Regions from separate parts of the Homo sapiens genome. Here regions 1, 2, 3, 4, 5 and 6 are each linked to region 7. Evidence: promoter capture Hi-C in 16 types of primary human blood cells and fetal thymus (Javierre and others, 2016). All regions are on one chromosome and are shown on one strand. The core of a region is centred on a gene start or on the middle of the fragment in contact, and the rest is flanking DNA. Distances in the headings are between cores, read along the strand shown.

Region 1 (3,728 bases), core at 522-3,021, 230 kb before region 7:
CCTCCTGGGAGTGGCCTCCTGAGCCCTTCTGGGACCAGGCCCTGGCCTGGGTGGAAAGTCTGGCTGGATGGCTACCCGCCTCCCACCCTTCCCCACCACCAGGAGCCCAGAGAGGCATCTGAACCTGGGTGTAAACAACAAGGGGATGAGATCTATATCAGAGGCATGTGCAAGACCAAGCAAGGCAGCAGGACTTTGCCTAAGGCACCTGCGGGTGGGGTGGGAGAGTGGGGTTAAGCTGAGGCACAGGCCATGGGCCTACACCGCTTCCTGGGCAGCCTTCCCTGGCCTCCCCTCACTATGTTCAGCTCAGCAGCCCCCCGCCAGCTCGTGCACGCTGCTACTGGACTTGTTTACCTTCCTTTTTTTTTTTTTTATGATGGAGTCTCGCTCTGTCGCCCAGGCTGGAGTGCAATAGCATGATCTCAGCTCACTGCAACCTTCGCCTCCCAGGTTCAAGCGATTCTCCTGCCTCACCCTCCCGAGTATCTGGGATTACAGTAACACATCACCACACCTGGCTAATTTTTGTATTTTTAGTAGAGATGGGGTTTCACTACGTTGGTCAGGCTGGTCTCAAGCTCCTGACCTCAAGTGAGCACCCGCCTCAGCCTCCCGAAGTGCTAGGATTACAGGCGTGAGCCACTGTGCCCGGATGAGACTTGCCGACTTTCTGAACGACCTCTTTCTGCACGCAGTGTCGAGAGGGCAGGGATCTCTGTATGTCCTGCTCTCTGGGCCTCGGGTGGTGCCTGGCACACACTAGGTGCTCAATAAACAAATCAGGGCTGCACTGAATGCTGCAGATGGATTAGCCGGGGCTGTTCAGACACAGGAGGGACAGCCCATGCAGGGAGAAAGATGCACGGGTCTCAGCTCAGCTCCTAGACTCGCCACGGGGTGGTGACGAGACCACGGCATCCTTGTGAGGATTAAACTGTCTCGATATCTGTAAGCCATGGAGAAGAGCGCCTGGCACAGGGCAAGCACATCTGTCTGTGACTATTTAAAGGCAGGGCAAGTTTCTGGAAGGGTGGGAAGGAAGGGGCTGGGGTAGCTTCTGGTGCCCAGTAGAGGGTGCCCCTGAGCTTGGTGTAGCTGGGAGCGCCAGGCATACTCATCCTGATCTGAGATGGGGACAGGGTGGCTTGCAGAAAGGTGTCCCCTAGGAGGAGTTGGTGTGGCGACTCCAGCTGGGTGTGGTGGCAGGGGTGTGTGGGTACAGGCTACATCTGGGAGGCTAGGAAGAAGCTGGGGCTTCCAGATGAGCAAGGACAAGGCCAGAGCCAGGCTGGGCTGTGGGGATGTAGACTGGGACTCAGTGGCAGTTCTGAGACTGAGTCACCAGGGTGCAGCGCCAGGGATAGCTACGAATTAGGAAGCATTACGAATCGCGTTGAAAAAACCAAGTTCTGCAGCCAGCCTGCCTGGGCCGAGTCCCAGCTCCGTTACTAACCATGGGACCAGGACCGTTTGCAAGTGTCTTAACTCTCCTATGCCTCAGTTTCCTCATCTGTAACATGAGAAGAATAGGACCTACTCAGGGGGCTGTCGTGAGGCTGAAATTCACTGACCCTGTAAAGGGCTTGGAGCAATGCTGGGGGCCCGACTGACATTCTCCCGCCCACCCTCGCTGAGCTGTAGAAATAATTGGTCTATTTTCTAGACGAGAAGGCAGGCTCAGAGAGGTGACTCAACGCCTTAGCGTCATTCGTGGAGGGGAGAACGCGGGTCTTGTGCCTCTCAGGACTCGCAGGCTGCTCAACAGAGATGTGGGACTGATACTCCCACCCAGCAGCCTGTCCCGAGGCTCAGGGGCCATGTGGCTTTGCAGGACGCCAAGCAATTCTACGCCTTTGTCAATTTAACTTTAACAGGTGTGAGCCACCGCGCCCGGCCGACTGTTCTTTTCTGTAAGTGTGCTGTGAGTCATCATGAGAAAAAGTTAAGAAGAAACTGACAAAGTATGGGAAATCCTATTTGAAAAGGGTAGAAACTGAGGCTCGGAGTGGTGACAAGGATTATGTGGGCCCCGAGATGGCGCTGCTGAGGGAATGAAGAGGATAACTCAGCTGGAATGAGAGCCAGGGAGGCCGCAGTTAGACACGAAGTCTCAGCAGCCCGGGAACGGACGGCAGAGGGCGCACTGCTCCCTCCTATCCAGAGGACCTCCTGGCTGCTGGTCGCAGGCCCGCGGCTGGGGAATGTCCCAGTTGACCTCAAGAGAGGTCAGCTCCTAGATTCCCCTCTACAGATCCTCCCTTCCGCCATTTTCTTTCTTTCTTTCTTTTTTGCCTTTTTTGAGATGGAGTCTCTCTCTGTTGCCCAGGCTGGAGTGCAGTGGCACAATCTCAGCTCACTGCAACCTACCTCTGCCTCCGGGTTCAAGTGATTCTCCTGCCTCAGCCTCCTGAGTAGCTAGTACTACAGGCACGCACTACCACTCCCAGATAATTTTTGTATTTTTGGTAGAGACGGGGTTTCGCCATGTTGGCCAGGCTAGTTTCCAATTCCTGACCTCAGGTGATCCAACCGCCTCGGCCTCCCGAAGTGGTGGGATTACAGGCGCGAGCCACCGCGCCCGGCCCTCCCACCGTTTTCTTCCTTAAAGGGCTCTAACTGGGAAAAGTCTGTCCAATCAAAAGCTCCATGTTTCATGCCCCTGGAGGGATCAGCCGCCTGGAAAATGCGAACTAGTGGGTAATTTAAAAGCTATTCTTGGTATTTGCCTTGATAATGCACTATGGCCGGGGTTTTTATTTGGTTAGTTTGGGTTTTGTCTTGTTTTTTTTTTTTTTTTTTTTTTTTTTTGAGACAGAGTCTTGCTCTGCCACCTAGGCTGGAGTCCAGTGGCAAAATCACAGCTCACTGCAGCCTCTGCCTCCTGGCCTCATGCAATCTTCCCACCTCAGCCTCCCAGGGATCTGGGACTACAGGTGCGTGCCACCACACCTGGCTAATTTTTGTATTTTTAGTAGAGATGGGGTCTTGCTATGTTGCCCAGGCTGGTTTCAAACTCCTGAGCTCAAGCGATCCACCTGCCTTGGCCTCCCAAAGTGCTGGGATTACAGGTGTGAGCCACCGTGCTGGGATTACAGGTGCGAGCCACCGCACGCCGCCTTTTTTTTTTCAAGACGGATTCTTGCTTTGTCGCCAGGCTGGAGTGCAGTGGCACGATCTCGGCTCACTACCACCTCTGCATCCTGGGTTCAAGCGATTCTCCTGCCTCAGCCTCCCAAGTAGCCAGGTGCCCGCCACCACACCCGGCTAATTTTTGTATTTTTAGTAGAGACAGGGTTTCACCATGTTGGCCAGGATGGTCTCGAACTCCTGACCTTGTGATCCACCTGCCTTGGCTTCCCAAAGTGCTGGGATTACAGGCGTGAGCCACCGTGCCCGGCCAGGTTTTGTTTTTTGTTTTTGCAACAGAATTACCATCCTGTAGCTGCCCCACTTTGGCTGTCTGGGCCTGGCTTCTCCACACTGACTCTCAGGGTGGGACAGACATATATACCTTCTGAGGCACATGGCAAGCCCATGGGGGCTACAGCTTGCTGGGCGACCTTGGATAAGTCACTCAGAGCCTGTGCCTCCATTTCCACGTCCATAAGATGGGAGAAGTCATCCTGCCCTCACAGGAATAAATGGGGTTAGATGAGCGCTCCCTGACCCCCTGCTCCAGATAAATGCTTTGAAATTTTTGTTTCTTTTTCCTCATTTAGGAAAAG
Region 2 (3,924 bases), core at 630-3,129, 220 kb before region 7:
TCCCTCCCCACCCCTCCCTCCTTCTTTCTCTCCTTCTGAACGGGGAGGGCGCCTCTCCTCCCTCCTCCTCAGCCTCCCTTCCCTGCGCCGCCTGGGGGAGGCCTCCCCCTCCCCCGCTAATCAAAGGCTCCGTTATCTAATTAACCCATTGGTTCTGGGCAGCCGAGGAGGCAGCCGAGGAAGGTCGGGGGAAGCGGGGGAGGAAGGTTGCCGGCTGGGCTGCCCAAGAAAGGGGGGTGGTTGGGCCGTGCCAAGCCGGAGCCTCATGGCACACAGACAGCCTCGTTGGCTGCATGACCGGGCTGGGCCACCACTGACCCCCTCGCCCCCACTTCCAGCCAAAACCCCCCAGCTTCACACCCCCCACTGGGTCTAGGCACACAATCTTGCCCAGCGTTTTCCTGCAGATGCCCCTGTACCCCAGGAACTCCTTTGAACCCCCACCATGCCACACAGCCTTTACTCCAACCCTGATATACCACACCTGATATACCGGCACTGGAACCTGCGCCCTGCACCGTCACCCCGTCCCGTGGCTGAGGGCCAGCCCCTCTCCATGCCACAAAGGCCCCCACCCCTAGAGGAACCCCTCTCCCTTGGACCTTAGCCAGATCCTGACATCCACCTCCTGACACACTTCTGCAAAATCTGCAGGGCAGCCACGTTCATTCATTCAACTTATCCGCCCATCCATCCGTCCATCCATCCGTCCACCCATCCGTCCATCCATCTGTCCATCCATCCATCCATCCATCCATCCATCCATCCATTCATCCATCCGCCCATCCGTCCATCCATCCATCCATCCATCCATCCATCCATCCATCCATCCGTCCATCCATCCGCCCATCCGTCCATCCGTCTATCCATCCGTCCTTCCATCCCTCCGCCCATCCATCCACCCATCCATCCATCCATCCATCCGTCCACCCATCCATCCTTCCATCCATCTGTCCAACAAATGTCTACCCAGTCCCTGCTATGTGCTAGACACTAGCCCAGGACACCCATGGGCCACAAAAGGCACCTCTCGAGAGTGGGGCACATTGGTGAGTGCCGAGAGGCCTGGGTTTGAGTCCTGACTCTGCTGCCACTTCCCGTGTAACCTCGGGCCGGTGGCTTATTCTCCCAAGCTGCAGTTCCCTCCACTGTGAAACAGGGATAATGGGAGTATCTGCCTCCTAGGGCCACTGTGGGGATTAAATCGCTAAATCCTTGGTAAAGAGTTCTGTCTTCACAACATATGCGGAATCAGACCCCAGAATCAGAGGATCTTTCTCCCCACGCCCAGGCTACTTCCCTGACCTGGCTCCCATCTCCCTCTTGAACGATTACAGTGTCCTCCCCTCCAGCCTCCCCATTTCTGCCTTCACCCCCACTCCCCGTGCGTTCCCCACGGGCAGCGAGGGGTATCCTGTCAACACCCCATGGACCCTGCCCCGCCTCTGCTCCACAGCCTTCCACAGCTCCCGTCCCACTCAGAGCAGAGATGAGGACTTCAGTTTTCAGGTCTCCACTCTCCACCCCAGCTCCTCCTCTGACCTCATCGCTTCCCTCCTCCCCCTGCTCACTCGCTGTTTCCAGAACAGGCCGTGCACACCCCGGCCCCAGGGCCTTTGCACCTGCTCTTCCCTTTTCCTGGAATGCTCTTTGCCGGTTGTCCACAGGGCTCTTGCCCTGCTCTCTATCAGGTCCGTGCTCCAATGCTACCTTCTCAGTGAGGCCGTCCTGACCGCCCCGCATCAAACAGCACCCCTATCCCTCTCCAGAACCTTCTCTGTTTCCTTTTTCTCCATGACATTTATCAGCATCTGAGCTTTTATATGGGTCCGTGCGCTTGAAGGCAAGTTTCCCGAGGGCAGTCAGTTTGTGACTATTTGGTTCCCAGGACCCACAACAGTGCTGGGCACATGGCAGTTGCTCACCAAACACTGGGTGCAGGGACGGATGGGTACGTTATCATCACTGTGAGTCTATTTCCCCCCACGCTCACACACAGATACCCCCACTCTCCGTTCTGCACACCGAGCCAGGCCGCACTGCAATAGCTGCACAATGCAGGCTCCCAGCCCTGGACACCCTCGGTCCCCAGGTCCCCTTCCATCCCAGGAGGCCTGCTGGCAGAGGCAGCACCTTTTTTTTTTTTTTTTTTTTGAGACAGAGTCTCACTCTGTTGCCCAGGCTGGAGTGCAGTGGCGCGATCTCAGCTCATGGCAACCTCTACCTCCTGGGTTCAAGCAATTCTCCTGCCCCAGCCTCCTGAGTAGCTGAGACTACAGGCGCTCACCACCACCCCGGCTAATTTTTGTATTTTAAGTTAGAATCGGGGGTTTCACCATGTGGGCCAGGCTGGTCTTGAACTCCTGACCTCCAGTGATCCACCTGCCTTGGCCTCCCAAAGTGCTGGGATGACAGGTGTGGGCCACCGTACCTGGCCGAGGAAGCACACATCTCACGTCAGCTGGACACCAATGTCCCGGGTCACCCTCCATGCCCTGGGTCACCCTCCGTGCCCCAGCACCACCCGGATGGCTAAGTCCCAGATACTACACCTCAGGTTCCAAACAGGAGGTCCCCAGCGCAGCTCCGTGCACCCAGAGGAAAGCTACCACTCTGCCCAAACCTCAGATACCACCTGCGTGAGCTACACTCCTGGATACAGCTGCATACTGAGAGGGCACCTGGCCCCAGTTGTCCCCAGATAGAGCCCTCTGACCTGGATAACAGGAATGCTGGCTAACCTCATCTCTTCCGCACACACATCTGACTTGCGTGAACTCACTGAATAATGACACCACCAAAGGTGGTAACGTCCAACACACATCTGGCACTGACTGGGCACCATTCTGGGAGCTTTACTTGCATTAGCCACCGCAGTTCACATCAACCCTCTGAGAGAAGACTGCTATTACACCCAGTTCCCAGCTAGCAAAGCTGAGACACACAGAGGTACTGTTAGTTGCCTAATGCGAAACACACGGCTAGGAAGTGGCCCCTCCTAGGTCAGCCTTGCCAGAGTCCAGGGGCCCCAAAGACCCCCAAGTGTGGCCTGACAGCAGCAACAATTCCCATGGAGGCTGCCTGTGTGTGGGGGGCAGGGTGCAGGCAAGGCCACAGGCATGCTGAACAGCCACCCTTCCTCAGCCCCTGCAGTCACCCGCACTGCACAGGATATCACACGCCCGACACCCCACCACGGCTTCACGCCCGGCTGGCAGAGGCTCCATGGACTGCCCTCTGCCCCCACGCACCCCTAGTAGTGATGGGAAATACTGATTACATGTGGGTGCCATGCTATCCACTCCTCAAGCTGCTGGCTTCTCCCCACGGCCCTGGGAGGAAGGGATGGTTCTTGTGCCCATTTTACAGATTCAGAGGTGAGCGGCACTTGCCAAAGGTTACACAGCCCTCCAGCAGCACAGCCGGCATTGGAACCCCAGTCCCAGAACTTAGCCAGGTCACCACGGTTGCCTCTCCCACCGCAGCTGCCCCGGGAGAGGACCCATCACAAGGGTACACCTGTTCTCCTCCCTCACCTGGTGCAAGGAACAAGCCAGAGGTGCAGACACAGAAGGACCCCAAAGAGGAGAAGTACGAGGGGCAGAGAGTGGCAGAGTCACAGGGAGACAGACACAGGCATACAAAGGGGCATGAAAGGGGCAGGAGGACAGGAGGCCCCGAGATGGAGCTGAGATCCAGGCGAAGGCAGAGGCTGGGAGGGCCCGGGCACTCGAGGCGTGAAGCTGAGTCCTCACCGGCTTCGCCATCCTCCCCAGCCCCAGCTCTGAGAGATCTCGGGCACTGTGCCTGGGAGGATTCAGGCAGATGGCAGATCGGAAACTCGGGGACCCAGGAGAGGCGGGGTGAGGAGAAATGGGAGGCAGGGAACGTTCCTGTCAGGCGCACTCATTTTTTGGGGTGGGG
Region 3 (3,948 bases), core at 1,422-3,921, 180 kb after region 7:
GTGAGGGTAAAATTGGGTACAGGATTCCTGGACAAGCTCAGGGGTAGTGCCAAAGCTGTGGGGGCTGGAGCCTGGGGATGGGAGGGAGACCAGGGCTTTAGGGATGGAACTGGTCTCAAGAAGTGGGGTCAGGCCTCAGTGAGTGGGGTCAGGGCTGGAGGCAGGAAGGGGTTTGGAATTGACTTAGTTAGGGCCAGGGTCAGGGTTACATGTTAGAGTCTCCTATAAAGAGCTCTGACTTTGGGCTGGGGGCGGTGGCTCACGCCTGTAACCCCAGCACTCTGGGAGGCCGAGGTGGGCGGATCACCTGAGGTTGGGAGTTTGAGACCAGCCTGGCCAACAAGGTGAAACCCTGTCTCTACTAAAGACACAAAAATTAGCCAGGCGTGGTGGCGCGCACCTGTAATCCCAGCTACTCAGGAGGTGGAGGCACGAGAATCACTTGAACCTGGGAGGCAGAGGTTGCAGTGAGCCGAGATCACGCCACTGCACTCCAGCCTGGGAGAGAGAGCAAGACTGTCTCCAAAAAAAAAAAAAAAAAAGCTCTGACTTTGAAGGGGGTTCTAGAAGGTACCCACAGAATAGGGGGTGGAGCCTGGCCCAAAGGGGTGTGGCCTTAGGCGGGGTCCACTAGAGTCTGGCCTAGGGGCGTGGTTGAGGAAAGGAGGTGGGGTCAGAGCTCATGGGCGGAGCTAGGGTTCCGAAAGCAGGACCAGGAAAGAAGGGCTCAGCTTAGGGGGCCACATGGAGGGGAAGAGCAGGCCTAGGTTTCTGAATTCTCAGATGAAAACATGCCTTCTCAATCCTGTCAATCTCCTCCTCTCACACACAGACCTACAGACTACATGCATGCCCCACTCCATCATCAGTCCTCCCGTGCCCATTCACTGGTTCTTACCCTTTTTTTTTTCTTTTTTTCTTTCGAGACGGAGTTTCGCTCTTGTTGCCCAGGCTGGAGTGCAATGGCGCGATCTCGGCTCACCGCAACCTCCACCTCCCGGGTTCAAGCGATTTTTCTGCCCCAGTCTCCCGAGTAGCTGGGATTACAGGCACGCGCCACCACACCAGCTAATTTTTTGTATTTTTAGTAGAGACGGGGTTCTCCATGTTGGTCAGGCTGGCCTCGATCTCCCGACCTCAGGTGATCCGCCTGCCTCGGCCTCCCAAAGGGCTGGGATTACAGGCGTGAGCCACCGCGCCCGGCCTGGTTCTTACCCTTGCTGATGGCCCTGGCACCACCATCATTCACGAACTCACCCCAAGAACCACGCGCACAACAGCAGTAACAGCCAAGCACGCACGCAGTTCTGCAGACACGCCCATGTTGCCTCCACAGGTGCAGCTAACATACAGCTCTGTCTCCAGGTACACACGCTCCCGGGCAGCCTAGCGGGATCGCACACCCTCATCCACAGTGTCTCAGTGCCACGCACAGATGCCGTGTGTGCACAGATGTTCAGACTGCCACATACTCTTCTGCACACAGGCACACACTGCAAGTCAGTCACCTGGCACCCATCTCCCAGAGATAGCTACCCCTGCACCCTCTATCCCTCCAGGCAGAGACAGAAACTCCAGACACACAGCTGCACCATCACACATACAGTAGCATTTACACGGCCTCACACAGACACACACAGTCACATACAGTCACCCCTACACAGAGCTTCAGGTAGTCACACGGTCACAAATACGGGCATCCATAACGTCACACTCAGCCACAATCACATAATCGCCTGCAAGCAGCACACAGTCACAGCTTTCCATGGTGATGACCACTTTTGTTGCACGCAATCCCGGGACCTCAGGGACAGGAACTGCAGATACCTGCAGTCATATACAATGCCAAGTCACCACACACAGCCAAACACACAGTGAACACCCCCAGTGCTACATGCATTCACCCACACAGCTGTGGAGCCACACACAATCTTAAATGCACACACAATCACAAAACCACACACACAGCCTCAAAGGGTCAGTGCCACCTGCCGCACAGTCACCTGATATGGGAAAAGGCATCCCCCTCCCCGACACACACCGTGGCAGTCACAGGGCCACATACGATCGCACAACCACAAGTACAGACAGAGACTCACATTCACCCGGTCCCGGAGTCATGCCCAGGCTCACACAGTTCCCCAGGGGACAGGCGCTCTAGTGCCGCAGAGACAGTCCTCCCAATCCCACAACCCTCCCACCCCAGAGTTCTGGTTACCTGTGACCCCCAGAAGCAAGGCTGTGATCAGAGCACAGAGCACCCACATCCAGGGGGGTCTTGCTGTAGCCATGGCCGCTGCACCTGGATGGGGAATGTCAGAGGGTTGGGAGGCCCAGGCGATCCGGGGAGCCCTTAACCCACTTCCCCTCCCTCCCCTACCTTATTTCCCCAGGTAGAGAGGAACCACAAGGACGGGCCACCATCGGCACTGCGCTGAGACCCAGGCACTATAGAATTCAGAAGATAGGAGTCTAGCAGCCTCCAGACAGGGCAAGGAGGGGACAGAGAAAGATGTGGGTGCAGGACGCACAGACACCTCTCCTTCCCTGCCTGCTGAGCCACCCTCACCAGGTCTCACTTGCCCTGTCCCCCAGGTAGGGGGTGGGGGATTTGCTCCCAGCTCAGCCGCAGACTTCTCAGGCCTGTGCCTTCCTGGCCACTGCCTCCTCCTGGGCTCTGGGCACCGGGCCTGAGTTATAACCACCCACTGCTCCCTGGGGCACATTCCCGGGCAATGAGGTGCCTATCGGGCCTTAGCAATAGCTCCTCCTGCTCCCCCTATCTCCACCCCCAGAGCACCCCCCACCCAGTCCGGAATGTCACTCCCTACCTCCCTGGCCCGGAGAATGGGGAGGGGTCTCCGGAAGCCAGGCCAGCCCCTTCCCTGCCTCCCCCAGCCTTAAGGATCTGGCTTCTCACCAACTCTGGGTCACTATTCTTGGCGCCTGGATTGCTTGCTTTCTTCTCTGCATTTTGCTCATTCCACCACTGTCTGTTCACCCTCGATACTCCTCTTTCCATCTTTGTCTCTGGTTTTTTCTCAGAGTCTTCTTCCATCTCTCTGTGGTTCTCCCTCGGCTATCTTTCTGAGTCTCTCTCAATATCTCGTGTCTCTCTCCACCCCTCTCTCTCTTTCTATCCCTCTCGCCTCTCTGTCTCTCTGTCTCTGTCTCTCTCTCTCTGTCTTTTTCTCTGTCTGTCTCTCACTCACTCTCTCTCTCTCTCCTCCTGTCTGTCTTAGGAGCCTTGTTTTGTTCTCCTTGGGCCACAGGTGTTTCTGTCTCCCTGTTCCTCCCTGTCTTTCTATGCCTCTGTGATTCTTTCTTTTTTAAAGGTTCTGAATGATTTGTCAAATATACCTTAGAGTTCTTGGCCCATTTATTTTCCTTTATTTCACTTCTGCTCTATTTGTTGACAGCATTTTTTTTTTAGATATAACTAAGGTACAACAAACTGCTTGTTCGTTTGTTTATTTATTTATTTGAGACAGAGTCTTGCTCTGTCGCCCAGGCTGGAGGGCGGTGATGTGATCTCGGCCCACTGCAACCTCCGCCTCCAGGGTTCAAGTGACTCTCGTGCCTCAGCCTCCAGCATAGCTGGGATTACAGGTGTGCCCCACGACACCCGGCTGATTTTTTTTTTTTTTTTTTTTTTTTTAGTAAAGACAGAGTTTCACCATGTTGGCCAGGCTGGTCTCAAACTCCTGGCCTCAAGTGATTCACCCACCTCTGCCTCCCAAAGTGCTGGAATTACAGGCATGAGCCACGGTGCCTGGCCCAAACTGCATATTTAAAGGGTAGAGTCTGATGGCTTTAGGTACTTGTCACATCAGCATAGTCAAGAAGATGATCATGGCCGGGCGCGGTGGCTCACGCCTGTAATCCCAGCACTTTGGGAGGCCGAGGCGGGCGGATCACGAGGTCAGGAGATCGAGGCCATCCCGGCTA
Region 4 (3,938 bases), core at 766-3,265, 250 kb after region 7:
ACGATGGAGCCTCTGGGCATCTGGATCAGCAGGAGCATAACATCTGGATCAGCTGGAGCGTAGCATCTGGATCAGTTGGAGCGTATGACTTTATTGATCCAGGACATGTATTTGCAGATCTGGGTGTAGACAGCTGGATGCTGGGCAGAGCCACAGGGGTAAACACCCCACGAGAGGATGCCTTGGAGGGTCTCGTCACAGACCAGGGGGCCTCCAGAGTCACTCTGGGGGTGGCAGGAAGGAGAGATCAAATAAATGTGCCAACGTGAGAGCTGTCACTTTGGGATCTGGGGCAGTGGTGGGGAAGGAAGGAGTTGGGTTGGGATAAAGACGAGGATGGGATGGGGTTGGAATTAGGTATGAGCTGGAAGGTAGGAATGGAGGTGGACTTCAGGTTATGGGAGGTTGGGCTGGGGGATGAGAATGAAGGCACAGTGAGACTGGGGTTGGGATTGTAGTTCATGGAAGGTGAGGGGATGAAAATGGGCTTGGAGATGGGAATGGGGTGGGGTTGGGATGGAAATGGGATTGAGGATAGGGATGAGGAGGGGGTTAGGTCTGGGTAAGAGTTGGGGTCAAGGATGGGTTTGGGAATGGAGTTGGGGATCGGGCACAGGGTCTGCTCTTTTCCCATAACCTCCCTGTCCTCCCTCCCAGGAGTCAGAGACTCTCCCTGTTCAGACCCTACCTGGCAAGGGTCCTGGCCCCGGTCCAGTCCAGCACATATCATGTTGTTGGTGACCACGCCAGGGTAGAAGACCTCACACTCTTTAGGGCTCAGGATAGTGATGCTGGAGCAGGTCAGGCCCTTGTTGTACTTCACTGAAGGGAGAATATGCCAGTAATCCCTGGGTCCAGCCCCCAATCCTTGGGGAGCCAGGAGTCCAGATACAAGACCGTTTCTATCCTAAGCCCCAGCCCCTCCTCCTTCAGACTCAAGAATCCTGGCCCCAGCCCCTCCCCACTTAGACCCAGGAGTCCAGGCCCCCAGCCCCTCCTCCCCTCAGACTCACAGACCCAGGCATCTAGGACCCCAGCCCGTCCTCCCTCAGATCCAGGAATCCAGTCCCCAGCCCATCCTTCCTCAGACCCAGGGGTTCAGGCCCTCAGCCCCCTCCTCCTGAGGTTCCGGCCTCAGAGCCCCAGCTCTTGCCTCTCCGGGCGGCCGTGGTGCCCCAGCCAGCAACCTGGCACTGGTCTCCGGGCTGAGCACAGCGGTAGGGAAGCTGCAGGGCCCGGACGCGGGGCCCCAGCACTACGGGCCTGGCCAGCTTCAGCAACATGAGATCGTGCTCATCCGTTCGCCTTGGCAGGATGGGGCCTGAGCCCTGGTGGTACTTGGGATGGACAACAGAGCGAGTGGTCCGGCGGAGCTGCTCTCCCTGAAGAAGCAGCAGGTGGTCATCCCCTACTCGAGCCCACAGTGGCCTGGGGGAAGGAAGAGGCATGTGAAGGCAAACCCTTCATAGGGACTGGGAAAGCAGGTGGGCAGTGACGCAGGGCCTGGAGATAGGAAGAGTCTGAGGGAAGAGGGCCTTGTGGGAGAAGGGGACCTCAGTGGACATGGGGAGGAGGAATCAGTTGTTTGAGCTCTGAGGATCTGTAGGAATTGAGGAGGGCTGGGGGCCTGGACACCTAGGTAAGCCTTCCACATTTTCTTTTCTCTTTTTCTTTTCTTTGTTGAAACAGAGTTTCGCTCTTGTCACCCAGGCTAGAATGCAATGGCGCAATCTCGGCTCACTGCAACCTCCACCTCCCAGGTTCAAGCAGTTCTCCTGCCTCAGCCTCCTTCCTGAGTAGCTGGGATTACAGGCACCCACCACCACACCCAGCCTTTTTTTTTTTTTAATTTTTTTAAAATTTTTTATTTTTTATTTTATTTTATTTTTAGTTGAGAAGTGGTTTCACCATGTTGGCCAGGCTGGTCTTGAACTCCTGACCTCAGGTGATCCACCCGCCTTGGCCTCCCAAAGTGCTGGGATTACAGGCGTGAGCCACCGAGCCCAGCCCAACTCCACATTTTCTCTGTGGTAATACCCAACCCTTCCTCCTTCAACGGGGACTCACGAAGTGAACCTTTTCCTTTAGTTCTAAATTCCTGACCACACCGGACCCTGGCTTCTATCCGTTGCAGGCAACCACCTCCTCCTAGAGCTCAAGGAGAATCAGCGGGAGAGGAGTGACGGGCCCAGAAATGCGGAAAAGGACCACACCGCCCCCTGGCGGCCACAGCGCAAGCCCGGTCTCTCCTCCTGCTGGAAGGACACCGGGGACCGCACCTCCAGCTGTGGGAGTTCCGAGAGACCCCGCCCTGCCCGCTCCTCCCTGGAGGCCGCCTCCACAGCCCCCCGTGGCGTCCTCGGGGATGGATCTCCTCCTACTTGTTTCCGCAGTGCGCGGCCGTCAGCACCCAACTCTGGTCCACCAGGACACCCGCGCAGTGGAACGAGAGGCCGTTGAAGAGCGAGACCTGCCAGGGCTGCGAGCCGCGCGCGCACGGGGAGCCATAGGCTTCGGGGTCCAAGCGCGTGTCGTTTTGGGGGAGCAGCGCCGCCTCTGCGGCTGGAGAAAGAAAGGGGACGGAATCAAAGCACGGAGGGCAGGGTCTGGGTTTGGGGTTGGAGCTGGGCTGTGGCACTGGACTGCGTTCGGGGACGGGGGACGCAGCCAGAACGCGAGGGTGGTAGGGAAATATTGGGGGTTTCGCGTGCACCGAAGGGAATGGGAGGAGAAGAAGCGCGTGAAAGTGGAAGGAAGCTGGGATAGGGTAGCGTGGAGTAATGAGACAGAATAGGGTGGGTCTGGAGGGCAGGGACTGAACGCAGCGCGCCTGGAGAGCTGGCTAGAACGTCGCTGGTCGATAGAGGGGCGGGGATTGAACGCGGCGGGGAGGTAAGGGTGCGGGGATAGAACTCGGGGATCGGGGAGAGGAAGGGGTGTGAATAACAAAACGGGATTGAAAACCAGGAGAGGGGTGGGGCGCAGTGGTTTACGCCTGTAATCCCAGCACTTTGGGAAGCCGAGGCGGTTGGACCGCTTGAGCTCGGGAATTCAAGACCAGCCCGGGCAACACAGCAAGACCCAGTCTCTACAAAAACAAACAAACAACAACAACAACAACAAAAAAGTAGTCGCGGAGGCATGCGCCTGTAGTCACAGCTACCTGGGAGGCTGAGGTGGGAGGATCGCTTGAGCCCAGGAGGTGGAGGTTGCAATGAGCCGAGATTGGGCCACTGCACTCCAGTCTGGGCGACAGAGTGAGACCCTGTCTCAAAAAAAAAAAAAAAAAAAAAAAAAGCCGGATGTGGTGGTGCATGCCTGTGGTACCAGCTACTCTGGAGGCTGAGTATCGCTTGAGCCCAGGAGGTCGAGGCTGCAGTGAGCTCTGATTGGGCCACTGTACTCCAGCCACGGAGACAGAGCACTGCCCTGTCTCAAAAAAAAAAAAAAAAAAAAAAGAAGGAAAGAAAAAGAGAGAGAAAGAAAAAAACAAGAAAGAAAGAAGAAAAAATAAGAGAGAAAGTAAAACAAGAAAGAAGAAACAAACGAAAGGAAGGAAGGAAAGGAAGGAAGGAAAAGAAGAACGAAAGAAAGAAAAGAAAGAAAGAAAAAGAAAAAAGAGAGAGAAAGGGAAAGAGGAAGAAAAAAAGTGAGGGGAGAGGGCAAAAAGCGGTAAGGCAAGACTCAGGATAAAACACGGTGGTGTGGCCGGGAGCGGTGGCTCACGCTTGTAATCCCAGCACTTTGGGAGGCCGAGGCAGGCGGATCACGAGGCCAGGAGATCGAGACCACGGTGAAATCCCATCTCTACTAAAAATACAAAAAACTAGCCGGGCTTGGTGGCGGGCGCCTGTAGTCCCAGCTACTCGGGAGGCTGAGGCAGGAGAATGGTGTGAACCCGGGAGGCGGAGCTTGCAGTGAGCCGAGATCGCGTCACT
Region 5 (3,692 bases), core at 125-2,624, 160 kb after region 7:
GAGGCCAAGGTGGGTGGATCACTTGAGGCCAGGAGTTCAAAACCAGCCTGGCCAACATGGCGAAACCCTGTCTCTACTAAAAATGCAAAAGTTAGCTAGACATAGTGATGCGTGCCTGTAATCCCAGCTACTTGGGAGGCTGAGGCAGGAGAATCGCTTGAACCTACGAGGCGGAGGTTGCAGTGAGCTGAGATCGCGCCACTGGACTCCAGCCTGGGTGACAAAGTGAGACTCCATCTCAGAAAAAAAAAAAAAAAGAAGAAAATATTTTTACATGGTAAAAAAATATGTTTATAAAAAATACAGAGTGATAAACCTCCACCTAACTTTGTTCCCCAACCTGTCCTGTCTTCATCCCTCTTCAAAACACAAAAACTAGAATATGTTTTTTTGGATCATCTTCCAGGATTTTGTGGCACAGGGACAGATGCATACAAAGATGTGTTTTTATTTTTTTTTCTCTTGCCTTTAGCCACCAGGCTGGGTTTCGCACCAAGAAACGTGTCTCCCGGAGCTTAGACCACTTGGTGAATTCTCTTTCTTGTTATCAGAATTGAAGACCTGTAATGCCTGGTTAGTGTCAAGGTTTGTGAAACACTGTTTGGATAATTACACAAGTTATAAAACAATAGCTGGTGTGAAAATTACAGATGATTCATAATTACACATATGGCTGTCAAGCTTTCTGCTAGAGAGTCTTTCAGCCTGCGAGAACTCAGTGGGAGGAACTTTTTTTTTTTTCCTAAAGGGATCTCATTGCTCATTCTGCAATGATTAGAGCTGGCCAGAAAATAGACACTGGCAATACAGCAAATAAAGTCGAAGGGAAAATGCAATCAGAGAGATCTAGGAGGACGACAATATTTTTTACTGAGCACTTCCGATATGCCAGACACATTTTTATTATGACATTTTATTTTGAAACAGTTCAAAACTCACAAAAATTGCAAACTAGTGCAATAATGCCCATGTACCCTTCATCCAGATTCTCCCAATGGTAACATTTTTTATAAGGATAGTACACTGTCAAAACTAGGAAAACATCGTTGATACCATGCTGTTAACTCACATAGAGACCTTATTTGGATTTCATCATTTTTTACATCTCTCTCTCTGTCTCTCTCTCCACCCCATCCCCACCATCTGTTTGTCTCTGTTTCTCTCTGTCTCTCTTTTCATGTATCTAGTTCTTATAGCTCTATAGATAAAGGTAACCATCACCACAGTTGGGATACAGAACTACTTCATCACCATAAAGAAATTTTCAGGCTGGGCGTGGTGGCTCATGCCTGTAATCCCAGCACTTTGGGAGGCCGAGGTGGGCAGATCATCTGAGGTCAGGAGTTCGAGACCAGCCTGGCCAACATGGTGAAACCCCGTCTCTACTAAAAATACAAAAATTAGCCGGGCGTGGTGGCGCACACCTGTCATCCCAGCTACTCAGGAGGCTGAGGCAGGAGAATCGCTTGAACCCGGGAGGTGGAGTTTGCAGTGAGCCGAGATCATGCCACTGTACTCCAGCCTGGGCAACAGAGCAAGGCTCCATCTCAAAAAATAAAATAAAATAAAATAAAAAATAAAATAAAATAAGGGAAATATTTTTAAATTGCAATTTTAAAGATATTTTAAGTTCTGTGGACTATATGGTTTCTGTTATCAACCAGTCAACTCTGCTTCATCGAACAACTCATACTCAATACATACATGAATAAGCATGGCTGTGTTCCAATAAAACTTTATCTACAAAAGCAAAACAAAACAAAACAAAAGACCACCTTTGAGTTGGTCACAAACTTTGTGAAACATCATTGAGTCAGTTGCGTAAGTTATACAACAGTGACTAAGTGTGAGAACTAGTGATGACTCCCTTCATTGTTATCAGTGGAGATAGATGATGCAGACCTGGCTTATTTCTTAAGGTGCACTGTTTCAAAAAGCTACAAAAACTCAGGACAAGCTCCTAATTGTGAAGATGAACAATTTCACTCATCTTGGTCTACTGCCTTGCAGGGGTGTTTTGGTAGAGTGGTTTCTCGACAGTTTTTCTTGAAACCCAAATCCAAATCCAAAGCTTTGCTGAGTAATCCATTATCCTTGAAACAACCCCGTGAAGTTGTACTATTATTCTTGCATTTGTACTATTATTCTTGTATTTTGGCTCGGAAGACTGTGTGCCTAGCTGCTCTGCTATCCTGTCTCTGTCCAGCACACACATACACACACACGCACGCGCGCACGCACACAAATGTCAACATTGGTTTCCTCTGGTTGGTGAGATCATGGGGTGTTTTTTCATTTTTGTTTTTTGAGACAGAGTCTTGCTCCTTCGCTCAGGCTGGAGTGCAGTTTTGTGATCTCGGCTCACTGCAACCTTCACCTCCGGGGTTCAAGTGATTGTTCTGCCTCAGCCTCCCCAGTAGCTGGAATTACAGTCTCCCACCACCATACCTGGCTAATTTTTGCATTTTTGTTAGAGACAGGGTTTCACCATGTTGGCCAGGCTGGTCTCGAACTCCTGGCCTCAAGTGATCTGCCCACCTTGGCCTCCCAAAGTGCTGGGATTACAGGCGTGAGCCACTGCACCTGGCCCAGGCTGGGGTTTTTATTATCAGAAACTGCTAGACTTTTTCCCGAAGCGGTTGAACCATTTGACACTCCCTTCAACCAGGTATGAGAGTTCGAGGTGCCCCACGAAGTGTGCAACATCTTGGCGTTTTCATCTTATTTATTTTTATTGAATTTATTGTAGTTTTTTGTTATTTAGTTTTTATTTCATAATCATAAACTTAACTCTGCAATCCAGCTAGGCATGGAAGGGAACAAGGAAAACATGGAACCCAAAGGGAACTGCAGTGAGAGCACAAAGATTCTAGGATACTGCAAGCAAGTGGGGTGAAGGGGTTCTCTCCCAAGCTACAGAAGGAATGGTCTGGTCGTTAAGATAAAATACAAGTCAAACTTAGAGTTGTTCACAGTCAGCAATGGTGATCTCCTTGCTGGTCTTGCCATTCCTGGGCCCAAAGTACTCCATGGCCTCCACAATCTTCATGCCTTCTTTCACCGTGCCAAAGACCACGTGCTTGCCATCCAACCCCTCAGTCTTGGCAGTGCAGATGAAACACTGGGAACAATTTGTATTGGGTCCAGCATTTGCCATGGACAAGATGCCAGGCCCTGTATGCTTTAGGATGAAGTTCTCATCATCAAATTTCTCCCTGTAGAGGGACTTGCCACCGGTGTCTTTATGGCGTGTGAAGTCACCACCCTGACACATAAACCCTGGAATAATTCTGTGAAAGCAGGAACCCTTATAACCAAATCCTTTCTCTCCAGTGCTCAGAGCATGAACCTTTTCTGCTGACTTTGGAAACTTATCTGCAAACAGCTCGAAGGACACGTGGCCTAAGGGCTCTCCATCAACGGCGATGTCAAAGAACACGGTGGGGTTGACCGTGGCTGATAGTACAGGACTCGCAGCGGCAGTGTCTGCAAAGCCTATTTTAATTTTTTAAAACCGATCTGATGGGTGGGTGGTAGCGTCTAATTGTGGCTTGAATTGGATTTCCTCTCATGACGAAAGAAGTTGAGCATTGTTTCGTGTGCTTTATGGCCCTTTGTATGTCTGCTGTTGTCAAGTGGACCTGTGTACACCGAGAGCTGACCCACTCGTGTATCAGTTCTGTGGGGCTGCT
Region 6 (3,671 bases), core at 884-3,383, 180 kb before region 7:
AGAATCGCTTGAAACTGAGAGGCCGAGGTTGCAGTGAGCCGAGATCACGCCACTGCACTCCAGCCTGGGTGAGAAGAGCAAGACTCCATCTCAAAAAAAAAAAAAAACTATTATAAAATATCACCATGAACCTCTTTGTAAGCTTCTGACTTTCAGGTGAATTCCCAGGCATGGGATATTTTCAGGGTATGGACATTGTTCCTGTATTTGACACCTTTCACCAATTTGCTTTCCAAAATTGTGGCAATTTACCTTCTGACAACTGAGTATCAGCATGCATGTCTGTTTGGCTGCACTCTCTCTAGCATTTGGTAGAAGCTTAAAACATTTGTTGCTCATTTGATGGGCAGAGGAAGGAATCACTGAGCTGTTGTAATGCTATGCCTTTGGGCTTTATAAAAGGAACTAAATGAAACAGTTAATGTGAAAATTGCTTTAGCTTCTGCAGAAAACTTTTGTTAATGACCCAGCAATTCAACTCATAGGAACTTATATTCAGGAAGTCATCAGAGAGGTAGACAAAAATATACACACAGAGATGTATCTCATAGAATCATTTATTATAGCCAAATCTGAAAAAAACTTAAGTGTTAATGGAGTACATGTGATCTGGGGATGCTGCTTTACCTGTAGCCTGTTTTCATTTCACTCCTAAGTTATTTATTTATTTTATTTATTTTTATTTTTATTTTTTATTTTTAGAGACAGAGCCTCGCTCTGTTGCCCAGGCTGGAGTGCAGTGGCACAATCTCAGCTCATTGCAACCTTTGCCTCCCAGGTTCAAGCGATTCTCCTGCCTCAGCCTCCAGAGTAGCTGGGACTACAGGCCGGTACCACCATGCCCGGCTAATTTGTGTATTTTTAGTAGAGATGGGGTTTCACCACGTTGGCCAGACTCGTCTCAAACTCCTGACCTCAGATGATCTGCCTGACTCAGCCTCCCAAAGTGCTGGGATTACAGGCGTGAGCTTCTGTGCCCGGCCCTGCCATATTATTATTATTATTATTTTGAGACAGAGTCTTGCTCTGTCACCCAGGCTGGAGTGCAGTGGCACAATCTCAGCTCACTGCAATTTCCACCTCCTGAGTTCAAGAAATCCTCCCACCTCAGCCTCCTGAGTAGCTGGGACTACAGGCGCCTGCCACCACGCCCAGCTTATTTTTGTATTTTTTTGTAGAGATGGGGTTTTGTCATGTTTGCCCTGGCTGGTCTCAAACTCTTGGGCTCAAGCCCCCTGGGCTCAAGTGATCCAGCCGCCTTGGCCTCCCAAAGTGCTGGGATTATAGGCATAAGCCACCATTTCTGGCCACTCCTGCCTTATTGACTAATAATTTTATTATTATTATTATTGTTATTGAGACAGAGTCTCTGTCACCCAGGCTGGAGTGCAGCGGTGCAATCTTAGCTCACTCCAACCTCCACCTCCTTGGTTCAAGTGATTCTCTTGCCTTCGTCTCCCAAGTAGCTGGGATTACAGGTGCCCACCACCATACCCAGCTAATTTTTGTATTTATGGGGTTTCACCATGTTGCCCAGGCTGGTCTCGAACTCCTGGGCTCAAATGATCTGCCCTCCTCAGCCTCCCAAAATGCTGGGATTACAGGCGTGGGCAACCACACCCAGCCACTCCTGACTTATTGACTAATAATTTTATTATTTTTATTTTTTTGAGACAGAGTAACCTATAATTTTAGCACTTGGGAAGGCCAGGGTGGGAGGATAGCTTGAGCCCAGGAGTTTGAGACCAGCCTGGGAAACATAGGGAGACCCCCGTCTCTGCAAAGAATCAGAAAAATTAGCCAGGCGTGGTGATACGTGCCTGCTCAGGAGGCTGAGGTGGAGGATCTCTTATCGGTGACAGGCTCTTCCACCTGGTACTTTCCCTCTACTTCGTGCTGCGTTTTGGCTGACAATAGCCTTAAGGGAGAGGAAATCAATATATATTCCCCCCATAGGACTGGCAAAACCAAAGTTAACTGGTGTAGTAAGCATTGATGAGATGGGCTGGGCCAGTGGCTCACTCCTGTAATCCCAGCACTTTGGGAGGCCAACACAGGCGGATCACTTGAGGTCAGGAGTTCCAGACCAGCCTGGCCAACATGGTGAAATCCCGTCTCTACTAAAAATACAATAATTAGCTGGGCATAGTGGCAAGCGCCTGTAATCCCAGCTACTTGGGAGGCTGAGGCAGGACAACCGCTTGAATCCAGGAGGCGGAGGTTGTGGCGAGCTGAGATCGCACAGCTGCACTCCAGCCTGGGCAACAGAGAGAGGCTCAGCTTAAAAAAAAAAGCACTGATGAGGATGTGGGGGAACAGGTCCTCTGTCCCATTACCAGCAGAAAGAAAATCAGGCTGGGCTCAGTGGCTCATGCCTGTAATCCCAGAACTTTGGGAGGCTGAGGCGGGTGGATCACCTGAGGTCAGGAGTTGGAGACCAGCCTGGTCAACATGGTGAAACCCCGTCTCTACTAAAAATACCAAATTAGCTGGGTGTGATGGCGGGCACCTGTAATCCCAGCAACTCGGGAGGCTGAAGCATAAGGAGCAGCTGAACCCGGGAGGCGGAGGCTGCAGTGAGCCAAGATCGCGCCTTTGCACTCCAGCCTGGGTGACAGAGCGATACCCTGTCACAAACACACACACAAAAAGTGAAAATCAGTATGTCTACCAATGGTTCCACACCCTTGCCACGGCCTCATCGTGTATGTGGGGTGCTTCCTTGCCCTTTAACTCTGCACAGTTGACTTGACTTGACTTGCTTTGGCCAATGGCATGTGGGTGGATGCACCAGCGTCTGAGTCTAGGCTTTCAGAAGCCTTGCATCTGCCTCTAGTCCGCTTGTGCCCCAGCCGTCACCACGAGACGCTCTCCCTGGCAGCCTACCTTCTCTCAACCTGGGCCCCAGAATGAGATGCTTGGAGCGGACCTGAGCCAGCCAGACCTGCAGCTTCAAGCAGAGCAGCCCTAGAAAAGTCTGGCTAGGCCGGGTGCAGTGGCTCACGCCTGTAATCCCAGCACTTTGGGAGGCCAAGGCAGGTGAATCACTTGAGGTCAGGAGTTCAAAACCAGCCTGGCGAACATATAGTGAAACCCTGTCTCTACTAAAAATACAAAAATTAGCCAGGCGTGGTGGTGCATTCCTGTAGTCCCAGCTACTTGGGAAGCTGAGGCAGGAGAATCACTTGAACCCGGGAGGCGGAGGTTGCAGTGAGCCGAGGTTGTGCCATTGCACTCCAGCGTGGGCGACAGAGAGAGACTGTCTCAAAACAAAACAAAACAAAAAACAAATAAACAAAAAAGCAGAAAAGCCTGGCTAGATCAAGAACACATGAAGTTGCTGAGTTTTTGGTATTTGTTATGTAGAAATACTTGACAGTTCCAGGAATTGTTTATTAAAATTAAAATGAATACATTCATATAACTTGATAATTCTAACTCTCCTTATTAGACATGTCTCCAAGGAAACTCATGTAAAGATGTTCATAGCAACATTGTTTGTAAAAGCAAAGAAACCAAGAATAACCCAAATGTCCAGCAAGAGGAGAGCGGACAAAGAAACGCCGAGTTCTATGGAATACTACTGCAGCTTTTAAAAGGAAGAGGACAAGCTCTTTAAATAAATCTGGATAGATTTCCAAGACATATTGTTGAGTTAAAAAAGCAAGCTG
Region 7 (3,950 bases), core at 1,002-3,501:
CGCACCTGGCTAATTTTTTTATTTTTATTAGTGACGGGGTTTTGCCTTGTTGGCCAGGCTGGTCTCGAACTCCTGACTTCAAGTGATCTGCTCACCTCGGCCTCCCAGTGTGCTGGGATTACGGATGTGAACCACTGCGCTTGGCCTTACCTTGATCTTTTTCTAAAGAAAACATTTCATGATCTTCATTTCTTCCTGTCAATATGTGTCACCATGTGATATTAACTCCTTTCAGCCTAGAGGACTTACTTCCTTAAGCAATTCCTGCGGTCTGTAGGCCATATATTATTTCAGATCTGGCTTATCTGAAAATGCCCTTTTTTCACTTTCATTTTTGAAAGATATTTTCACAGAATATAAAATTCTGGATTGACAGACTTTTCTGCTGCCAATTTTTTCAAATAGTGGAGTAATTTTTAATATTTTGTCCAGATTTTAATTTTTTTTTTGTCTGTGGCACCATTTGTCTGACAAAGTTACTCTGACATTATCCAAAGTTAAAAGAACCTCCATCTCATTATTTTTACTTTATTTTTATTGAGACAGGGTCTCGCTTTATCACCCAGGCTGAAGTGAAATGGCGTGACCATGGCTCATTGCAGCCTCGAATTCCAGGGCTCAAGTGACCCTCGTGTCTCAGTCTCCCAATTTGCTGGGACTACAGGCACGTGCCACCATACCTGACTAATTTTTTTTTTTTTTTTTTTTGAGACAGAGTCTTGCTCTGTTGCCTGGGCTGGAATGAAGTGGCACGATCTTGGCTCACTGCAGCCCCTGCCTCCCAGGTTCAAGGGACTCTCCTGCCTCAGCCTTCAGAGTAGCTGGGATTACAGGCACGCACCACCAAGCCTGGCTAATTTTTGTATTTTTAGTAGAGACAGGCTTTTGCCATGTTGGCCAGGCTGGTCTCGAACTCCTGAACTTAAGTGATCCACCAGCCTCAGCCTCCCAAAGTGCTGGGATTACAGGAATGAGCCACTACGCCCATCTCACGGCTAATTTTTAAATTTTATTTTATTTTTATTTTTTTGAGACGGAGTTTCGCTCTCGTTACCCAGGCTGGAGTGCAGTGGCGCGATCTTGATTCACTGCAACCTCCGCCTCCCAAGTTTAAGTGATTCTTCAGCCTCATGAGTAGCTGGGATTACAGGTGGCTGCCACCACACCCAGCTAATGTTTTTTGTATTTTTAGTAGAGACGGGGTTTCGCCATGCTGGGCAGGCTGATCTCGAACTCCTGACCTCAGGTGATCCGCCTACCTCAGCCTCCCAAAGTGCTGGGATTACAGGCGTGAGCCACTGTGCATGGCCACAAAAACTTGTAATTATTTATTTTTTGTAGAGACGGTCTCACTATGTTGCCCACCTTGGTTTGGAACTCCTGGCTTCAAGCAATCCTTCTGCCTCAGCCTCCCAAAGTGTTGTGATTACAAGCATGAGCCACCACACCTGGCCCCTCCATTTCATTTATTATTTTTCCATAACACTTGTAGTCTTCTAAAGCAGTATATCATGAAGTAAATTTATTATATGTATTACACCTGACATCTCTCACTGGGATGTAAGTTCCATGAGGGCTTGTTTTGTTACACGAGTTATGTCCAGTACTTAGAACAATATTATAGTGTCCAGTGAGCCGAGATCGTGCCATTGCACTGCAGCCTGGGTGACATAAGGAGACTCTGTCTCAAAAAAAAAAAAAAAAAAAGAACAATATTATTGTGTCATAAAAAGCATTCAGGCTGGGCTCAATGGCTCACACTTGTAATCCCAGCACTTTGGGAGGCTGAGGTGGGAGGATCACTTGAAGCCAGGAGTTCAAGACCAGCCTGGGCAACACAGCAAAACCCCATCTCTACAAAAAAGAATTTAAGGCCTGGCAGAGTGGCTCACACCTATAATCCCAGCACTTTGGGAGGCTGGTGGACGGGTCACGAGGTCAGTAGTTCAAGACCAGCCTGGCCAACATGGTAAAACCCTGTCTCTACTAAAAACAGAAAAATTAGCCAGGTGTGGTGGCATGTGCCTGTAGTTCCAGCTACTTGGGAGGCTGAGGCAGGAAAATTGCTTGAACCTTGGAGGTGGAGGTTGCAGTGAGCCGAGATCATACCATTGCACTACAGCCTGGGTGACAGAGAGAGCAAGACTCTGTGTCAAAAAAAAAAAAAAAAAAAAAAGGTAAAAAAATTAGCCAGGCATGGTGGTAAGTGCCTGTAGTCCCAGCTACTCCAGGAGGCTGAGGGGGGAGGATCTCTTGAGCCTAGGAGGTGGAGGCTGCAGTGATCTGTGATTGTACCTTTGCACTCCAGCCTGGGTGACAGAGCATGACGCTGTCTCTAAAAGAATAATAATAATAAGCATTCCATAAAAATTATGGAATGGAGAAATCATGAATGGGGTCTCGGAGGGGACCAGAGGCTGCAGTGACAGGCAACCTGGGGTCCTGACACGTGATCGCTCTTGTTCCAGGAAGATGAACTCTTCCGGATGCCTGTCTGAGGAGGTGGGGTCCCTCCGCCCACTGACTGTGGTTATCCTGTCTGCGTCCATTGTCGTCGGAGTGCTGGGCAATGGGCTGGTGCTGTGGATGACTGTCTTCCGTATGGCACGCACGGTCTCCACCGTCTGCTTCTTCCACCTGGCCCTTGCCGATTTCATGCTCTCACTGTCTCTGCCCATTGCCATGTACTATATTGTCTCCAGGCAGTGGCTCCTCGGAGAGTGGGCCTGCAAACTCTACATCACCTTTGTGTTCCTCAGCTACTTTGCCAGTAACTGCCTCCTTGTCTTCATCTCTGTGGACCGTTGCATCTCTGTCCTCTACCCCGTCTGGGCCCTGAACCACCGCACTGTGCAGCGGGCGAGCTGGCTGGCCTTTGGGGTGTGGCTCCTGGCCGCCGCCTTGTGCTCTGCGCACCTGAAATTCCGGACAACCAGAAAATGGAATGGCTGTACGCACTGCTACTTGGCGTTCAACTCTGACAATGAGACTGCCCAGATTTGGATTGAAGGGGTCGTGGAGGGACACATTATAGGGACCATTGGCCACTTCCTGCTGGGCTTCCTGGGGCCCTTAGCAATCATAGGCACCTGCGCCCACCTCATCCGGGCCAAGCTCTTGCGGGAGGGCTGGGTCCATGCCAACCGGCCCAAGAGGCTGCTGCTGGTGCTGGTGAGCGCTTTCTTTATCTTCTGGTCCCCGTTTAACGTGGTGCTGTTGGTCCATCTGTGGCGACGGGTGATGCTCAAGGAAATCTACCACCCCCGGATGCTGCTCATCCTCCAGGCTAGCTTTGCCTTGGGCTGTGTCAACAGCAGCCTCAACCCCTTCCTCTACGTCTTCGTTGGCAGAGATTTCCAAGAAAAGTTTTTCCAGTCTTTGACTTCTGCCCTGGCGAGGGCGTTTGGAGAGGAGGAGTTTCTGTCATCCTGTCCCCGTGGCAACGCCCCCCGGGAATGATGGAAGACTTCAGCTGGAAGCTGGAAGCCGTCCTTCTTAGTTTGCTTGTGGCCTCTTACCTTGACTGGCTTCTAAAACCCTGCCAAATCCTGCCTCTTCTTTCAGGAAGTCTTCCAGCAACCCCTCATCTAAAGCTCTGTGGTAGAGACAGCTACTTACTCCCCAGTGTCCATTCTTCCCCGCCCCCCCCCCCTTTTTTTTTTGAGATAGAGTCTTGCTCTGTCACCAGGCTGGACTGCAGTGGCGCGATCTCGGCTCACTGCAACCTCTGACTTTCTGGTTCAAGCAATTCTGCCTCAGCCTCCCGAGTAGCTGGGATTACAGGCACGTGCCACCACGCCCAGATAATTTTTGTATATTTTTTAGTAGAGACGGGGTTTAACCACGTTGGCCAGGATGGTCTCAATCTCCTGACCTTGTGATCCGCCTGCCTCGGCCTCCCAAAGGGCTAGGATTACAGGCGTGAGCCACTGCACCTGGCCCATTCTTTC

The links. The method cuts DNA at HindIII sites, captures the fragments that hold promoters and counts their contacts. A CHiCAGO score of 5 or more calls a contact.
Region 1: a fragment that was not itself captured here is called in contact with the fragment with the promoter of GPR32 in region 7 in 16 of 17 cell types (M2 macrophages, M0 macrophages, endothelial precursors and 13 more); the score reaches 47.0 in M2 macrophages.
Region 2: a fragment that was not itself captured here is called in contact with the fragment with the promoter of GPR32 in region 7 in 6 of 17 cell types (M2 macrophages, M1 macrophages, M0 macrophages and 3 more); the score reaches 7.6 in M2 macrophages.
Region 3: a contact is called between the fragment with the promoter of KLK5 here and the fragment with the promoter of GPR32 in region 7, in 5 of 17 cell types (M0 macrophages, M2 macrophages, erythroblasts and 2 more). The highest score is 10.2, in M0 macrophages.
Region 4: a fragment that was not itself captured here is called in contact with the fragment with the promoter of GPR32 in region 7 in 1 of 17 cell types (M2 macrophages); the score reaches 5.1 in M2 macrophages.
Region 5: a fragment that was not itself captured here is called in contact with the fragment with the promoter of GPR32 in region 7 in 3 of 17 cell types (M0 macrophages, M2 macrophages and M1 macrophages); the score reaches 16.4 in M0 macrophages.
Region 6: a contact is called between a fragment that was not itself captured here and the fragment with the promoter of GPR32 in region 7, in 3 of 17 cell types (M2 macrophages, M1 macrophages and M0 macrophages). The highest score is 7.2, in M2 macrophages.

Annotation. Positions count from the first base shown.
Region 1 is chr19:50,535,776-50,539,503 of GRCh38, forward strand. All of the region lies in intron 2 of LRRC4B (leucine rich repeat containing 4B), which reads right to left. Among named protein-coding and RNA genes, the nearest start is that of ASPDH, 24 kb to the left of the region's middle. The HindIII fragment of the contact is 4,058 bases long and covers 1-3,728 here.
Region 2 is chr19:50,551,858-50,555,781 of GRCh38, forward strand. All of the region lies in intron 1 of LRRC4B (leucine rich repeat containing 4B), which reads right to left. Among named protein-coding and RNA genes, the nearest start is that of LRRC4B, 15 kb to the right of the region's middle. RefSeq lists an enhancer at 1-816. The HindIII fragment of the contact is 9,365 bases long and covers 1-3,924 here.
Region 3 is chr19:50,950,367-50,954,314 of GRCh38, forward strand. KLK5 (kallikrein related peptidase 5) reads right to left here and starts at 2,672. Exons shown (of 6, transcript NM_012427.5): 1 at 2,381-2,672; 2 at 2,219-2,302. The coding sequence starts at 2,291. The region is part of intron 1 of LOC105372442 (a long non-coding RNA gene); the gene reads left to right. The HindIII fragment of the contact is 21,591 bases long and covers 1-3,948 here.
Region 4 is chr19:51,014,729-51,018,666 of GRCh38, forward strand. KLK10 (kallikrein related peptidase 10) reads right to left here. Exons shown (of 6, transcript NM_145888.3): 3 at 2,382-2,562; 4 at 1,154-1,428; 5 at 689-822; 6 at 1-224. The coding sequence ends at 72. Among named protein-coding and RNA genes, the nearest start is that of KLK10, 3.0 kb to the right of the region's middle. The HindIII fragment of the contact is 6,023 bases long and covers 1-3,938 here.
Region 5 is chr19:50,924,119-50,927,810 of GRCh38, forward strand. PPIAP59 (peptidylprolyl isomerase A pseudogene 59) reads right to left here and starts at 3,499. Exons shown (of 1, transcript XM_047439804.1): 1 at 2,749-3,499. The coding sequence starts at 3,499. The coding sequence ends at 2,960. The HindIII fragment of the contact is 1,390 bases long and covers 680-2,069 here.
Region 6 is chr19:50,583,606-50,587,276 of GRCh38, forward strand. No RefSeq gene overlaps it. Among named protein-coding and RNA genes, the nearest start is that of LRRC4B, 17 kb to the left of the region's middle. The HindIII fragment of the contact is 3,635 bases long and covers 317-3,671 here.
Region 7 is chr19:50,768,213-50,772,162 of GRCh38, forward strand. It overlaps GPR32 (G protein-coupled receptor 32), which reads left to right and starts at 2,252. Exons shown (of 1, transcript NM_001506.2): 1 at 2,252-3,520. The coding sequence starts at 2,389. The coding sequence ends at 3,459. The HindIII fragment of the contact is 17,473 bases long and covers 1-3,950 here.